2 separate regions of the Homo sapiens genome follow, and region 2 is linked to region 1. The links are contacts of gene promoters, found by promoter capture Hi-C in human tissues and cell types (Jung and others, 2019). All regions are on one chromosome and are shown on one strand. Each heading gives the region's core, a stretch centred on a gene start or on the middle of the fragment in contact. The rest is flanking DNA. Distances are from core to core; before and after follow the strand shown.

What was found. The method cuts DNA at HindIII sites, captures the fragments that hold promoters and counts their contacts. A contact is called where the count stands out against the background at its distance.
Region 2: a contact is called between a fragment that was not itself captured here and the fragment with the promoter of KIF1A in region 1, in 1 of the 25 tissues and cell types used here (dorsolateral prefrontal cortex).

The regions. Positions count from the first base shown.
Region 1 is chr2:240,818,948-240,823,263 of GRCh38, forward strand. It overlaps KIF1A (kinesin family member 1A), which reads right to left and starts at 1,272. Exons shown (of 49, transcript NM_001244008.2): 1 at 1,175-1,272. RefSeq lists an enhancer at 1,684-2,258. The HindIII fragment of the contact is 12,815 bases long and covers 1-4,286 here.
Region 2 is chr2:240,579,390-240,583,705 of GRCh38, forward strand. RNPEPL1 (arginyl aminopeptidase like 1) reads left to right here. Exons shown (of 11, transcript NM_018226.6): 11 at 1-1,983. It overlaps CAPN10-DT (CAPN10 divergent transcript), which reads right to left. Exons shown (of 1, transcript NR_103792.1): 1 at 3,361-4,316. Among named protein-coding and RNA genes, the nearest start is that of CAPN10-DT, 4.8 kb to the right of the region's middle. RefSeq lists enhancers at 1-117, 615-734. The HindIII fragment of the contact is 8,850 bases long and covers 1-4,316 here.

The sequences.
Region 1 (4,316 bases), core at 22-2,521:
TCTGGGGGAAAGTCCCTATTCCCGGGGACGTGGGCGCGCATCGGGTCCGCGCCGGGCGACGTCGCGCTCGCGCCCAGCAGGCCCCATGACTTGGCATTCCCTCCTTCCCCTCCCCCTCCCGCCCCTGCGGCCGGCAGGGCCCCCCCAACCCCACCTACCGGCGCCCAGCGCCCCGCTCCTGCGGACCCTCCCTCCCGGCGGGGATGCTGCCCCGGCCCTTCCCAGCGAGAGGGCAGCGCGGCTGGTTTGGGGGAAGTCAGCGTGAGGAGCGGCTTAAAGCGGGAGTGCGAAGGTCTTCGCGGCCACTGTTCCTTCGTGTCATCCGAGCCCGGGCGCCGGGGGCGCGCCGCCAGCCTAGACCCTGCGGCCCCGCAGCCCCTCCCTCGCCGCCGGGCCACACCTGTTACAGGGGCGCTGGCTGCTGAGACGCAGGCAGTGCTCGCCGGCGGCCCCTCCCAGGTGCTGGGTCTTTCTGGAAGGGAGCTGGGGTCTCTGGCGTGGGAGGGGGTGATGGGCAGGCCGGCCGTGCAACGAAGCGGGTGGCCAGGCCCCAACGCCGCAGCCCCCGCCCCGCCCGCCTGTTTTGCTCCCGGCTCCAGCATCCGCCCTCCCCCACCCCGGGAACCGGAGCAGCTGCCCGCGCCCGGCCGCCCTGCGCGCTCTCCCCTCGGGCCGAGGCGCTGCAGCCGCGCACCCTCCCAGGTGCGGCGTCAGCGTCCTCAGCCCCGCTCACCATCCCTCCCCTCCCCCGCCGTCTGGGCGCAGCCCCTCCCGCAGCCCCGCCGGTGGCTCCTCTCCAGGGAAGCGGAATAGCCGGGGAAGGGCGGGGGTATCCCGATCCCGCCGGCCGGGCGAGCCCTCCCGAGGGCGACCCCCGCCCGCCTAAGCCGAGGGTCCCGCTGCAGCCGAGATCGCGGCAAAGGGACCTTTTCCAGCGGCACCTGAAGGGCGGACACCCCTGAATTTCCCCCATTGTTCTCTGCGGAGATGGAGGAAGGTCTGGAAGTGAAGGGGCCTCGCAGTGCCTGCGCTTTGGGCGGCAACAAGGGCGCCGGGCCGGAGCTCCCCGCCCTGGGCGCAGTGGGTGCAGGTGCGGGCTGCGGGCGCGGGCTGCCGGGCGCAGGTGCGGGGCGAGGGGCGCGGGCGCGGGAGGCCGGGCGGGCGGCGGCCTTACCTCTCCGGCGTCACTGGCGGCGGCCCCGCATGGGCACTGGCATGGGCGCGGGCTCTCGAGCCCGGAGCTGCTGCCGCTCGCCGGCTGCTCTGCGCTGTGACGGCGCCGCCGCGTGACGGGCTGCGCGCCCCCGGCCCGGACCGCCCCGCGCCCCTCCCGAGGCGCTGGTTGGCTGCGCGCGGCGTCCGAGCTCCAGTCGCCAGCTGGTTTGTCGCGCGGGGAGAGGGACGGGCGACGCGGCCGCCGCGGGGATGGGGCTGGGGACGGAGGGGGCCGGGGCCGGGCTGTGACGTCACCGCTGACACCGCGGCGGGCCCCGCGGAGGGTGGGGGACCGACACCCGGCTCGGACGCAGCGTCCCCTCCCCCGGCGTGCCCCTGAGACCTCGCGGGGGAGGGACCCGGCGGCGCCCCGTCCCGAAGCCCCGCGTGCACCTGAACTTGCCCGCGGACCCCTCGCCGGGCCGTCCCCCACCCTGGCCCCTTTCGAGTGAAATCGTAAAACGTCCACCTGCCCCCGCTCTGAGCCAGCGACAGACGCATCGTGGGGGGCGGGCGGGGCTGGGGAGGGAGGGCTCCTTGCGCCAGGGATGCTGGCTCCGGGTGTAACAGGTGCGCGGTGAAATCGCATCTTGTGTCGGGGCCGGGGCGCCGGGGGAAGAGCAGCAGTGACCCAGGCCCTCCCCGCCGGATGATGCAACCCGCCCGCGGACCCGCCGCCTCGCCTCTACCGCGGCTCGTGGGGACCCCCCGCCCTCCTCTCGCCCCACCTCTCCAGGCCCCCATTGTCCTCACCCCAGCCTGTCCAGTTTAACTTCCTTGGACCCCCAAGTCACACGCCGCTCGGGGGCCACCCCGGCAAACCCCAGCCTGCGTCACCCGCCCCCAGCCGCCTTCCTAGTTCCAGGGGCTGACTGGTATCTCTGTGCGCGCCACCGTCCTCCCTCCACCGTCCCAGGGCTGGGCAACTTCGACAAAGCCTCTGGGCAGCTCGCCCATGGGAACCTCCCCGCACTGCGGTGCGGGGGTGCACGGATTTCGGGCCACCCTGAACCCCGGGGCTGGGTCCCCTCCAGCCCAGCCCCTGCCATCGAGCCCCTGCCATGGGCATCCTGGCGTCGCCTGGCTAAGCCTCCCTGGCGCCCAGCAGGGGCCTGCGCTGCCCTAGCGGCCTCGCCGTTAACCATTTCATCCACACTCCTGGGAGAGCCGGCTTCACCTCAGTCCCGACAGCTGCGTGCGAGCGCCTTGCAGGTGGCTGGGGGAGATTCACATCCACTTCTGCAAGACACGGGCCCCCCACTCCCAGCCCCAGCCCCGCCGAAACCAGCTAGACAGCTCCTCCTCCTTCACTATTTCCTGGAACCGCCGGCATGAAAGAGAAATCAATTGTTCTTCCTAACCCTGGCAGAAACAATAAAACCATCTGGGCTTCTGGGGCTGGGGTCTTTATCACCTCCGTTTTCCTCATGCTTTTTAATCTGGCAAGTTCTCTATTTCTCGAGGCAATAGACATTTTTCTAGGAATTAATCTATTTCACGTTAATATTTAAATGACTAGCATATCTTTTTTTCTTTATATTCTGGCTTTTTATGGTTTTGTTTGTTTGTTTTGACAGGGTCTTGCTCTGTCTCCCAGGTTGGAGTACAGTGGTGCCATCTTGGCTCACTGCAGCCTCAGCCTCCCCAGCTCAAGCAATCCTCCCACCTCAGCCTCCCTAGTAGCTGGAACTACAAGTGTGTGCCACCACGCCCAGCTAATTTTAGCATTTTTTGTAGAGACAGGATTTTGCCCTGTTGCACAGGCTGGTCTCAAACTCCTGAGGTCAAGCCATCCACCCACCTCGGCATCCCAAAGTGCTGGGATTACTGGCATGCATTTGGCCTGTATTTTGTTTTTTGCATTTTTCTCTTTTAATATTTTTAAATATTTTCAGAGCTCCAACTTTTAGTTCTGTTAAACGTCTTTCCCGTTATTTCATTTGCTTCTGTCTTTCTGTATTATTTCCTTCCTTTGTGGTTCTTTGGATTTGATCTGTTCCTCTGTCTTGAACCAAATGCTTAGCTCCTTTTTAAGCCTTCTGATTTTCCAATAGATCTACTGTATTAAAAGCTACAAAATTCCTTCTACAGAACTGTCTTGGCTGAGTCTCACAAATTTGGACATAAAATGTTTTCATTATCATTCATATCTAATATTTTCTACTGTTCCTGATGATCTCCTTTTAAACCCAGGGTTATTTAATAATGTTATTTACTTTTCAATAGTGTTTCTTTAATTATAACCTTTTGTTACCAGGTTCTAATTTAATTGCATTGTTGTCAGAGAACAAGTCTGTATTCAGTCAAGATCCTGGCAGGAAGCAGATGGCACACTCAAATTGGGTAATTTGAGAAGGGTTTGATAAAGAGACTATTGATAAAGGTGTGGGCAGGAGGTCGGAGAGCCCCAGGGGCTTGGTGGCACTGCAGCCTTACTGCCTGCAGGGAGCGGGGCGGGCAGAAGCAGAGGCTCAGGTGGAGGGGTGCAGCCAGCCAGAGTTTCCTAGGAAGGGAGCCAGGGCAGCAAACCCTGGACCTCACTCTCCCTCTTCCCCTGATCTGGTAGTGCTTTGGCTGAACCCAAGGGGAAGCTGGAGGTCAGGGGCACCCAAGGAGTATGGTGCATTTCGGGTGGTCTCCTGAAGAATGGGCAAAGGGAACTTAGAAGCACAAACAGAAACTAGCTGCCCAGTCTGCATGGCCCTGTGCCTCTGGAATTCATTGAGGCTTCTTTAGGTCCTAACACATAGTCTATTTCATACATGTTCTACCTGTGTTCAAAATGGTTGTACTCTCTGCTTGATGGGCAGAGAGTTCTCTATATTATGTATTAGTTCAAAATTATTAATTCTTGACTCAGTAAGGTAAGATCCCAGATAGAAAAGCTTTTTAAGGTTATTAATCATTTTGATCAGGATTTGGAGATTTCTGCTAATTTTTGTCAATGTGAACTATGCTTATTATTTTTTAAAATTTCCAGTTAGAATTGTTAAAATATCTGCTTCTCCCAGCAGTTCCGGCACATGTTGCTTGCTGTGTATTGTGGCCATATTTTTAGATATTAGAATGATTGTGATAGACATGCATTATCATTCTGTGGC
Region 2 (4,316 bases), core at 1,317-3,816, 240 kb before region 1:
AGTGGCGGTGGCAACTCTGGTCTAGGGTCTGGGGCCGTCTCTACATGTGTTGCTTCATGTACCTTCTTCACATCAGGTCTGGGGGAGGCGCCACCCCATCCAGAGACCTAGGAACTAGAAGACTGCCACTGCCCCTCACACCCAGGGATAGGATGACTGCAGTAACCCCTGTGAAAGCGGGTATGGAGGGCACCTGGCAGCCCCTGCTGCATGGCCATCTAAAGTCTTGCCAGGCAGGCACAGCTAGGGCCCCTGCCTGGGAGTGGACACCCCACTCCCCCAAGTCATGTTCTCTGTGGCCTGGGGCTCCAGCCTTGGGAGGACCCCTTTCCTGTTTCTTAACCATGCTTGATGGTGTCCTCAAAGGAGCCCTGCTCAGTGGCAGAACTGCTTTCTCAGCCTCTTCCCCGCCAAGGTTGTTTTCAAGTCCCAGCAGTCACAGACTTTCATCCTGGGCTCTTCTTTCTTTTGCAATTCAGCTCTCGAAATGACTCTGTGGTCTGCGGGTGACTCCACTCCACGTGCCTACAGCCACGCCCACAGCGCCACCTCCGGACGCTGCTGAGCTGCGCACCTGTGCCTGACACCTGGCTTTGGGAAACTCAGCAGCAGTGCCCAGCGTCATGACCCTGGGGGCAGGAGGGCATCTGGATCCAGGATGGCACCCTCACCACAATCTGTCTTGGCTCTGTGCCCGCCCGTGGGGTACACAGGAGGGCTCTTTCAGCCCTAAGTCCTTGTGTTCCTGACCTTTGTTCCTCTTCCACCCAGCTTGCAAGTGCAGAATTTTTTTTTAGCTCGTCGCTTCCCTGCAGTCCCTTGTCCAATGCAGCCTCCGGCCGATACTCAGGCCAGTGTTGTTTCCCAACCTCTCCACTAGATACGCACACTTAGCTCACGGTCTGCCTCATGAGTCATCCCAGTTGAGCTTTACCAAATGTTTTGCCCCACCTAACAGCCTGCCCACATTCCAAATCCTGGCAGGTCGCACGTTTTATTAGCACAGCACCCCTCTCCTAGCGGCCAGCTTCTCTATTAGGCCACGTTATGCTCCAGCCACACAACTATGAAGCGCAGACGTCTCACACAACAAAGCTTTCTCATGCTGCAGGCCCACCTCAGGCTGGCAGGGGAAGGGGGGATTCTCTTCAATGTGACCACTCTCGGACCCGTACCGATGAACAGAGATCTCAAATGTTTCCAGGCACCTTGCCAGGGATAAGAGAGCTGTTGAGGGGCTCACACTGGCAGTGGAAGTTCTAAGGGGCCTACAACCACAGGGGCTGCAACCCCACCATATGCACAAAAGCGGGGGCAGATGGCAAACAGCACTAATGACAACGACGGAGCTGAGGCCAGAATGTGAGAGAGATCTGCATTTTGGGGATTAGGGCCTAGTCAGGCAGGTAGGAGATGATGTTCAAAAAGGGAAAAGAAGCGTGATGAAAGACTGGTTTCTACAGAGATAGATTAGAAAGCTGAAGCCTGAAAAAACAGTGAAGGAGACCCATGCAAATTTCTAGGCCCTGGAGGTCCAAATAAGGTTTTCTAAGTCCCTCAGGCCATGACAGGTTCAGTCCAGACTTGTCTCCCAGAGTGTTTCTCTGCCATCCCTACTCTAACTGGGACTTATTGGTGGTGTTTCTCTCCTAAGGCCAGATGCTTTGCACAGAACATTAGGAAACTCCAGATGTAAAGGTAAGGCACAACTGAGAATCACCTGCCCAGGGCAGCAACACAGTGTGAAGGAAAACAGGCCACTCAACCCAAACTTACACCTGAGACAGAGGCAACAGAAAAATCAGAAAAGGACTTTAGAACACATATAATCAAAATCTCAGACCTAAAGACGACTTTTGAAATAAACCATAACATATGAAGAGGCACTTATGAAACAAGAACAGGTAGTTTATAAAAAAGAACCAGTCAGAGACCCTGGAAATTTTTTAAAAAGCAATTACTAAAATAAAAAATGAAAACTCAGTCAACAGTGCTCTGGTTTGGATGTTCCCTCCAAAATTCATGTTGAAATTTAATTGCCATTGTGATGGTATTAAGAGGTGGAACCATTAAGAAGCGATTAGGCCATGAGGGTTCTGCCTTGATGAATGCATTAATGTCATTATCAGAGTGGGTTCGTTATCATGAGCATGTGTTGTAAAAATGAATTTAGCTGTCTCTTGCTGTGTGTCCTCTTGCTCTTCCATCTTCCCCCATGGAATGGTGTGGCAAGAAGGCCTTTACCAGATGCCAGCCCCTCGCCCTTGGACTTCCCAGCCTCCAGAACTATAAGAAATACATTTATTTTCATTATAAATTACCCAGTCCGTGGTATTGTTATAGGAACAGAAAATGCACTTGGGGATATTAGGTCGTGGAGAGTAAAAAAAAAAAAAAAATAAGTTCCAGTCAATCAAGGCATCCTCATTCTCAACATTGCCTGCATTCTACCCTCCAGGGGTCCCCTCCATGGCCCTTCATCTGCCCCCACCCCGCAACTCAGCCTCATTTCTTCAGCCATTTTCTCCCCCACATCTCTCTTCCCTTCCCATCAGACCTTCACATCCTGCAAGCTAAGCCACCTCAACTAGCCATGCCCTCAGGGCTCTTACTCAAGCACCCACCAAGATGTTTTTCCTAACAAAGACTGTCCTTTTACTAAGAGGAATCTGATGTCAGCTGTTAGTCTCCGCTCCCCCCCACCCCCCATCTCTCGGAATAATCACCTGGTCAGAGAGAAGCCCAAGAGCACGGACATGCCAGCTAAAGGTGGAGCTTGGCAAGGGTGTCCACAGAGTGGCCAGGCCCAGCACAGATCCGAGGGGCTTTTAACAGGCACAGGCAGAGTGCTAAGGAGATCACTACCACCCACCCACCCATCCAGCCAGGCCCAGATAAACCTCTCCTTGTTCCAAATGAATGAGCAAACAGAAAAATTCCAGTGTGGAGGGAATACAACACCCACAATGCAGAAAATAGCCCACATCCAAAATATGCTCCCCTCAGATAACTAGTCAACTGTGCAAACTATCTGCATAATCCTCACAATAAAGTTGAAGAACACAAAACCACTTCATACAAAGAGTTAGGAAAAAAATTCCTATAAGGAGGAGCATGTACCATATTTATTCCCACTCTGTTTACTAAGCATGTATTATAATGAGAAAAAAAGCTCAATCTAAAATATTGCCAACAAAGAATCCATTCCTCACGTTGCAGTAAATGAAGCGGGCTGAGGTCAGCCTCCTTTTATGCTGGCTGCCCCAACTCTAAGGAGTTGATGCGTCCTACTGTTAACAGCGGAGGATGTCCAGGTTCTTGGCGTCTTAAATAAAGAATTGGACAAAACACACACAGAGAGCAAAGAAGGAATGAAGGGATTTATTGAAAATGAAAGTACACTCCACAGTGTGGGGGTGAGCCTGAGCATAGGAGCACAAAAGCCCTGTTACAGAACTTCAGAGAGTTTAAATACCCTCTAGGTGATTCCATTGGTTACTTGGGGCACACGTTATGTAGATGGAGAGCCTGTTACAGAACTTCTGAGAGTTTAAACACCCTCTAGGTGATTCCATTGGTTACTTGGGGCACACGTTATGCAGATGGAGAGGATGAAGTTACAAAGTCATTTGCTTGGCCTATGTCCTATGGAGAAGGTATTTCCTATCATAACTGAAGTGTGAATCAGCCTATGTTCCCTGCACTCAGACCCTATTTTCCTGCCTCCTACCTACAGCTGTGTGGTCCTGAGCTGTCACCTCTTCCCTTTGAAGCTCAGGTTCCTCATCGGTAAAATGAGGCAGAAATACTCACTGCTGAGATGTGTGGGGATCGCACAAACTCAGTGTCTCAACATGTTGTACGTGTGTTTTGGCCCTCTGAGCCCTTGAGGGCTGCCCCAGGTGGAACCCTCTTCACTTTTCTTGGAGAACTGACCATGGGTTGCAGCAAAGCCTAAAATGGTTCCTGTTTCAGCCCTGCCTGGGAAGATTCAGCTGGAACCTTTAGGCTAGGAAAAGGTTCGAGAAGGACCCTACCCCCACTGTGCCCGACCTGAGACAAATCCACAGAAAAGCAATCCTTGCTAACTCTGGGCAGTATGTGGACAAGATACTAATTTTTAATCTCTGCATCTCCATGAGAATGCAAGGACCAGCACAGTGAAGTGCCCAATGATTGCCCCCTGAACAAACGGAGATGTCAAGTTCAGAAAAAATCCTGGCTGAGGAAGACAGGGAACATTCCCTTGAAAAACAAGGGCAGTCATCCAGACAGAGCAAGAGGAGTGGCAGGATAAGAGGAGGCAGACAGGGTTG